Linked DNA regions of Homo sapiens: regions 1 and 2 are each linked to region 3. The links are contacts of gene promoters, found by promoter capture Hi-C in blood cells and fetal thymus (Javierre and others, 2016). All regions are on one chromosome and are shown on one strand. The core of a region is centred on a gene start or on the middle of the fragment in contact, and the rest is flanking DNA. Distances in the headings are between cores, read along the strand shown.

Region 1 (2,700 bases), core at 157-2,656, 970 kb after region 3:
TTCTTTAAGCAGGAGTCTGTAGAATGAATTATATAACCTCTTCCTTATGTAAACAAACAATGTGCACTGTCCAGGTCTCTAAAGAGAACTAAATTTAAAGAAACTGATGAAGTAATCTCAGAGCATTGTTCTTCTAGATTTCTACTCTTTTTCCCTTTTGTACTTAATATGGCCGCAGTTTCTTTTTTTTAATTTATTTTTATTTTTTGAGACGGAGTCTCACCCTGTCACCCAGGCTGGAGTGCAGTGGCGCAACCTCAGCTCGCTGCAACCTCCACCTCCCGGGTTCAAGCGATTCTCCTGCCTCAGCCTCCCGAGTAGCTGAGACTACAAGTGCGTGCCACAACACCCAGCTAATTTTTGTATTTTTAGTAGAGATGGGGTTTCACCAGGATGGTCTCGATCTCTTGAACTCATGATCTGCCCGCCTTGGCCTCCCAAAGTGCTGAGATTACAGGCGTGAGCCACTGCGCTCGGCAGTTAATCTTTATAGAATCTCTGAGTTATTGTTTAAAAATTTCATTTTCACACTTTCAGTTTATATAATGTTTAACTATGACATTTACAGTATGTCATTTACAACTGGTACGATCACGTTTGGGAGCAAACACTATTGACTCTTCTGACATTTGCTTGTAGAAACAGAAATGCACACACCTGTTAGGGAGCATTCCACTAGCCTCTGATGGTTACCAAAGAATTTTACCAAGGGAATGAGCAAATTAATATAGTGATATAGTTAAGTGGGACTTACAGTCTATTTATGATGAATGCATATGTCCACGCATGCGTTCACATGCACACACACACACACACACACACACACACACACACACACACACTCCCTGACTTCTCAGGAATGTGCATCTTGAGGGAGATCCTTTAGTTTTGTTGAGAAGGGATGTTAACAACGATGCAAATGAATGAAGCCAGGAAGGATAGAGTGGAACTGGACCAAGATGGAACTGGACCAAGATGCCAGACTAGAAGCAGCTCATGTGCACCACTCTCACAGAAAGGAAACAAAAGGGCTAGTGAACACTGACCCTGCAGGCCAGTCATCTGAAAAACTACACTGTGGTCGGGTGCAGTGGCTCATGACTATAATCCCAGCACTTTGGGAGGCCGAGGTGGGCAGATTGCCTGAGGTCAGGAGTTTGAGACCAACCTGGCTAACATGGTGAAACCCCGTCTCTACTGAAAATACAAAAATTAGCTGGGCTTGGGTGGCACATGCCTGTAGTCCCAGCTACTCGGGAGGCTGAGGCAGGAGAATTGCTTCAACCCATGAGGCAGAGGTTGCAGTGAGCCAAGATGGTGCCACTGCACTCCAGCCTGCACAACAAAGCAAGACTCCATCTAAACACACACACACACACACACACACACACACACACACACACACACACATTGGGATCCATCAAGGTAGCCAAGAAACATAGAGAGCAGAACTGGGCACCAGCCTGTCTGGGCTCAGTGCAGAGCCAGGAGAATCTCTCCAATACCAGAAAGGATGAGTGAGTGAGAGCCCCCTGAGGGATTCACACTTTCCACGAGGACCTGTGCAAAACTGAGAATGGGAGAATTCTCCTGGCCTTCCCACACCCCCCACTGCACTTCAAGACTAAGGCAGAGAACCACCTGGACATTTCGCAGGGGCAACTCTTGAGTCCAAGGGGACCTCTCCAGGCCTGAGACCCCAGAGCAGACCAGTACCAGTGCCATAGCCTCAATAGAGACCACAGTCATGGTGCCTGGGAGCAGTAAGATTGCTCTACCTGCCCCTCGCCAGATGGAGCTTGGCACCAGCTTCTGGCCCAACAGTCCCACTTCTGTGCAAACTCAGCTGACAGCTACAGCCTCCTGTTATCCTGGGAATCACCTGGATGACAGGGTAGGCAACCTTACCCACCCCTACCACTGATAGCCAGGTAAGCAATGCCTGCTAGAGCTTCCAGCCCAGCAGTCCGACTTCTGTCTGAATTCAGCCAGCAGGTGCAGCCTCCCACTGTCCTGGGAAATGCCCAAGTGGCAGGATGGGTGACCCCACCCACCCCCTGGCTGCTGGTAGCCAGGTGGGCAACACCTGCTAGAATTTCCAGCCCAGTGGTCCCACTTCTGTCTGAACTTAGCTGGCAGATACAGCCTCCTGTCGTCCTAGGAAGAACACCCAAATGGCAGAGTAGGTGACTCCACCCATCCCTGCCTCTCATAGCCAGGCCAGCCAGGCCTGCTAGAGCTTCAAGCCCAGTAGTCCTGCTTCTGCCTGAACTCTGTGGGCAGGCACAACCCTGTCTTCTCCCAGCCAGAAAGCACTCAGACAGCAAATTAAGGCCAACCCAGAAAGCATACAGCCAGCTGGCCAACTGTGGCCCCTGCCTGAGGGAGCCCCATGTACCAGAACACCCAACAACAAAACGTGGATATAGAGACAGTAATCAGAAGGGGCTCCTCCAAGATCCAAGAGTGGACTAGAATCAAAGCAAGTTGACTAAACCCACCTTATACCATAATCAAACCCCCAAGGGCATCAAAGGAGATAAAAGAAAAAAAACACACATAAAGACAGCAACTTCAAAGATTAAAGGAACATCACCCCACACGGATGAGAAAGAACCAGTGCAAGAAGTCTGGCAACTCAAAAAGCCAGAGTTCTTTTTGTTTCCAAATAACAACACTAGTTCCCCAGCAATGGTTCTT
Region 2 (2,700 bases), core at 109-2,608, 770 kb after region 3:
TTATGGATGAGAAAAACAAGACACAGAAACAGAATGGTTATGTCAGTTGTATGGGGTGGCAAAGATAGACGTTCTCCTAGCTAAGGATTTCTCCTGGAAGACATAATAGGCCTGACCCACAGTGCCTACTGGGATCCAATATTGCATTGCCTTCTGTCTGGTAGGCCAGGTGAATGGGGGACAGAAGGATATGAAATTAAGCACATAAACACACAATTATTTTTAAATTATTTTTCAGTGAAGTATTACTTTCACCTCCAAAGCTAAAAAAGTACAAAAAACAAAGTTTTAGCAGGGAAATCGCGTAAGCACCATTCTTGAGAATAATCTCTTAGTAAATCATGTTGCCTTTCCCTGTGCCCTATAAGACAGTTTTTTTCTAATCGTGCAAAGCATTTCTGACCCTCAGTTTCATCCACTGCTTTTGCCTCTGGCTCTCATTAGGAAGCACCTTGGAAGAATCTCGGAATTGTTAATGGAAAATGATTAATGGAATCATTCTCACTAGTCAGGGGTCAACAGAATCATATGCCCTGAGAGTCTTGCTACAAGTTCACTTTCCTGGGTCACCTATGCAGAAATTTTATCTCTGTGGAATATAATTGTTAAAAACTCATGTAGTCTTAAAAGAAAGAAGGCACTTCATGCCTACTCTGGAGGTTCTGAAAGTCTGAATGCATCCCAGAATATGTACTTATAAAATTGTGTGGTTGGCCGGTTGTGGTGGCTCATGCCTGTAATCCCAGCACTTTTAGGAGGCCAAGGCGGGCGGATCACAAGATCAAGAGATCACGACCATCCTGGCCAACGTGGTGAAACCCCATCTCTACTAAAAATACAAAAATTAACTGGGCGTGGTAACATGTGCCTGTAGTCCTAGCTACTCAGGAGGCTGACGCAGAAGAATTGCTTGAACACTGGAGGTGGAGGTTGCAGTGAGCTGAGATTGCACCACTGCACTCCAGCCTAGGGACAGAGCAAGACTCCGTCTCAAAAAAAAATAATTATGTGGTCCCTTGGTGGCACTGTGCTTCAAGTTTGTATATAATAATTATACATATGTAATAATGTATACATATTATACATATAATAATGTATACATATTATACATATAATAATGTATAACAATATCTGCTATACTTGAGGTAGATAAGGCATCAAATAAAATGTCCTAAGCACATTGAAATGTATACTACAAATAACAAGACCTTTTGGAGTATTTTAATCTCAGCTGAACCACTTGCTATGTTGTGATCTTAAGCTCTCTAAGTCTTAATGTTCTTGTCTATAGAATGAGGATAAAAATAATTACCCCCTCAAAAGATTCTTTTTTTTTTGAGGCCTCAATACTTTTTTTTATTTTTATTTTTTATATATATATTTATTGTACTTTAAGTTCTAAGGTACATGTAAACTAGTTCAACCATTGTGGAAGACAGTGTGGTGATTCCTCAGGGATCTAGAACTAGAAAAGATTCTTATGAGAAAGGAAGTGATGGTAAACATGAAGGTAACTTACAAATTGGAATGTCCTATGTTTTATTTACACATACATCTGTATACACCCAATGTATGATAACTACTTAATTGGTCTTATTTTAACTTTATTTTGTCCTTTGGAATAGCCACATTTTCTTTTTTCCTATGCTGTTCCAAGTCTCTTTTAATCTGTAGAAATTAAATACTCTTGTATGATCCTTGTCACAGGCAGAGTTTAACAGTATAATTTTTACTTTAGCTAAGCTACTGTCAATATGTAAATGCCAAATTTTTCTTCAGGTGTATCAGTAACAATCAGGTTACCATCTGATCATGGCTGACTGGGGATAGCTGGCTCTTTCTGGAGATTTTGCATATTTCTGCTTTGTACCCTTACGGATTGCTCTCAGAATTTAGCTCTCAGAGAGCATTTCCTGTCCCATATCAGCCATTGCTCCAGGGGCCTCTCAAGCTAACAATCACAGAAGACTACCGGAAACTATTCAAATGGTTCTGCTCAGGGAGGAAGGAACCTGCAGCCATCCTCTTTGACTTGAGCTAAACAGAATTCTAACGCGCGCGCGCGCGCACACACACACACACACACACACACACACACACACACACACACACACACACTGCTTATCTTACCAGAAAGAAGATGAATTTTCTCTGCCTTTCAGCCAGTATTAGAACTTTATCAAAGAACACCCTAATGTCCATTTTTAAATTGCTCTGCTCTAGGCTAAGCCAGTTCTGCATTAGCAGTACTTTTAACTTTTTTCCAAAGCTCCTTCATTTAATTTGGAATATCTCTTACAAAAGTCCCCAAACTTAGCAGACATTATAGTGATAGAGACCAAATCCTACACCCACATTTTTCAGATGAGGAAATGGAAGTCCAGAAAGGGGAGGCAATTTCTCCAAGGCCAGAAGCCAGTGGGCTGGTACTGAATGAAATGCAGGTCTCTGAGTATACTGTGACATCAGAGCTTCTTGACCCTCTCCACAGTAGCACCCCTAAAAAGGATCCCAAGGGAGAGGGAATCTGTATTTAAACACTTTTATTAAGCTACAATTCACATACTGTACAGTTCACTCATTTAAAGTGTACAATTTAGTGACTTTCAGTACAGTCATAGAGTTGCGTGTTCATCAGTCACCACAATCAATTTTAGAACATTTTCATTACACCAGAAAGAAACTACATGCCTTTTAGCA
Region 3 (2,700 bases), core at 172-2,671:
CTTTAGTTACTGGCTTATAACCATCTGGACCCAGGCACTCTTGATACTAATACTGCCTCCCAGAGTCATGCGTATAATAAGGAGTTAGATCAGAGCTGTTCATTAAAAGTATAAGGTGAGCCACTAATGAGAGCCTATGTGTAGCCTTACATTTTCTAGTAGCTACATCAGAAAATGTAAAAAGAAACTGGTGAAATTAATCTTATATATGCTTATATCTTAACCCAACACATGACGAATCCAACTGACTTACTACATCAGACTATTCTCATGTATTGCAATAATGTAATCAACATAAACATACTTAACAAGTTAGTTTACATTCATTTTAAAAATACTGAATTGTATGTCTGTTTTACACTTACAGAACATCTCAGGGATAGCCACATTTCAAGTGCTCAACAGCTGCCTGTGGCTCTTGAGGGGGAAGATCTTAAAAGGGAGCTTAGTTTTCCACCTTGATTCTGATGCCTCCCTGCCCCCGACTTATTTCCTTTGCCAATTAGAAGAAAATGCCGAACTGCCTTTGACTTTTCCGGTAGAGCCAATGTAGGTATTTCTGAACTGGGGGAGGACAGGTGGTTCGCCTGCAACCCTCTTCCCTCCTGCCAGCTAGGCTGGGAGTTAACGTTTTTGATTTCTGCTTTGAAAATGATTTAAGTAGGTTGCATGAATTAAGTAATTTATTCTAAATATCAAATTATGGGTGGAACGTCTTGCCTTATGCAAAGTTATGCAAAATTAGGAAGTCCCTGGCTTAATTGGTTAGAAATACATCTTGTAGTTTCAATTGCAGGGTTAGTAAATACATAGATGTCGACGGAGAGGGAGGAAACTTTTTTTTTTTTTTTTTGCCACTCTGTCCAAGGGTAGAGGCACAGCGTCAAAACAAACACGTCTTAAAGTAGCGTTCAAACAGCCCACCGAAGTTTCCCCTTAATATCCGGAACCGGTTGCCAAAAATTAAAAAAGGATGTGAAAAGATGCTACTCGCTTTTGGCCTCCCGGAGATGGCGCTATGAGGGTGACGGAGTTAATTAGTGCCTCCAAACGCCGTGTGTGAGCTCATCGAAGTCATGCTCTGCACACATATTATTTATAGCAGATCTGAGGCATGCATGGTGTTTGACATTTCTGTCTTTTAAGTAGGGGGACTTCAAAAAGTCGTGGGCATCCCCCTAGGCAAAGTGCAGTGGGCAGGGACCAGGCAGGGTGCGGGCGCAAGGCGAACGCGCAGACCACGAGTGTCCTGGCGCAGGTGCCGGGGGCGGCGGCTGCAACTCCGCAGCGTCCGCTCGGGAGGAGAGTTCGCGGCTGATCTCCGGATGCCTTGCAGATGCAAAATGTGTCTCTGGCCAGCAGGAGGAAGGAAGAGGAAGTGAGAGCAGCGGCAGCCGGCGGTGCAGCAGCCGGCCGACCCAGAGTGTAAGTGCGTGTGCTGGGGCGAGCGGGAGCGGGCGAGGATGGGCACAGGATAGAGGCAGAGCCACCCACGCCGCCGCGGCCCCACGCTGGGCGACAGAGCCTCCAGTTCCCCTTCAATGGTGGCGGGTCGCCGGAGCTCTGATCGCCGGGAACCCTTGCCGCTGCTGTCCTGCGACCCCAAGCAGGTTCGTAAAGTTTCCTGGGCTGGCGCCGCGCCCCGACTCGCTGACCTCGGCGCGGCAGGGGAGGGGGCCGGGACTGGGGCCGGGAGGAGGCGTCCTGCTCCGGGGGACTCCGGGCGCCGCGGAGACACTTTTGTTTCCTCCCTGGGGGCGCCGCGGCTCGGGCGGGGGTGGCCGCCGCGCTCGGCAGGGTGAGGGCTGCGGGCGCGTCGGGGCGCTCTGCAGTTGGGGAAGTCTGAGCTCCGGGGATGGCGGGAGTGGGAGTGGGAGCGGAGGGAGGGGGCGCTGGAGGTGCGGCGCCCGCGGATGAAGCGCAGGGCCCGGGGCCCGGGAGCCCGCCGAGACATTTCGACCAGGGTCTGCGGGAGGGGGGGCGCGGGAGGGTTGCGACGCTGGCGCGGGGTTACTGGGGACGGGGGATGTGGGGCTGGGATCTTGGAGTCAAGATTCCTATAGAGCTAGAGAAGCGGCTGCGGCTCAGACTCGGCGTCTTCTCCTGCACTCGGGGATGGGAGGGAATCCCCCGGCGAGCGCGCTCGTGGGAGGGGGCGGTGATGGGCCAGAGGAATGGGGGCCAGGAGGGCCGGAGAGGGCGGTCTGGGCAGCCGGGAGCCCCTGAGGTTCTGGTTAGTAAATACTCTCCTCCCGGGGACACACCGGGGTCTCCGCCGAGACCGAGAGAGGCGGCGGGGAGCTTTGTGGAGCTTCGTGGAAATCTCGGCTTCGGAGAGGGGACGCACCGGGCGCGCCTTCAGAGAAGGGGGCGGCGGCATGCCAGGGGGCCCGGGAATCGGAGCGGAGAGTGGCGACTGCGATCGCCGGAGTCGCTTTGAGGAAGAGGAAATACAGAACTCAGCTGTCCCGGGGGTGCGCGCGTGTGTTTGGGGTTGGGAAGTCGGTGCTGTGCCGCGAGCGCGCGCGAGGCGGCGTGTGTGTGTGTGTGTGTGTGTGTGTGTGTGTGTGGTGTGTGCGCGCGCGCGTATGTATGTGTGTGTGGTGTGTCGTCGGTGTGTGTGTGAGTGTGTGTGTGTGGGGGGGGTGTTGTGGGTGTGTGTGTGAGTCGGTGTGTGTGTGTGTGACCGCACAGCCAGGA

Evidence for each region. The method cuts DNA at HindIII sites, captures the fragments that hold promoters and counts their contacts. A CHiCAGO score of 5 or more calls a contact.
Region 1: a contact is called between a fragment that was not itself captured here and the fragment with the promoter of ELMO1 in region 3, in 1 of 17 cell types (naive CD8 T cells). The highest score is 5.7, in naive CD8 T cells.
Region 2: a fragment that was not itself captured here is called in contact with the fragment with the promoter of ELMO1 in region 3 in 1 of 17 cell types (activated CD4 T cells); the score reaches 7.4 in activated CD4 T cells.

Annotation. Positions count from the first base shown.
Region 1 is chr7:36,482,375-36,485,074 of GRCh38, reverse strand. No RefSeq gene overlaps it. Among named protein-coding and RNA genes, the nearest start is that of ANLN, 94 kb to the right of the region's middle. The HindIII fragment of the contact is 4,800 bases long and covers 1-2,700 here.
Region 2 is chr7:36,677,969-36,680,668 of GRCh38, reverse strand. The region is part of intron 2 of AOAH (acyloxyacyl hydrolase); the gene reads left to right. Among named protein-coding and RNA genes, the nearest start is that of AOAH, 45 kb to the left of the region's middle. The HindIII fragment of the contact is 3,690 bases long and covers 1-2,700 here.
Region 3 is chr7:37,447,585-37,450,284 of GRCh38, reverse strand. ELMO1 (engulfment and cell motility 1) reads left to right here and starts at 1,421. Exons shown (of 22, transcript NM_014800.11): 1 at 1,421-1,610. RefSeq lists silencers at 1,672-1,721, 1,732-1,781. The HindIII fragment of the contact is 5,071 bases long and covers 1-2,700 here.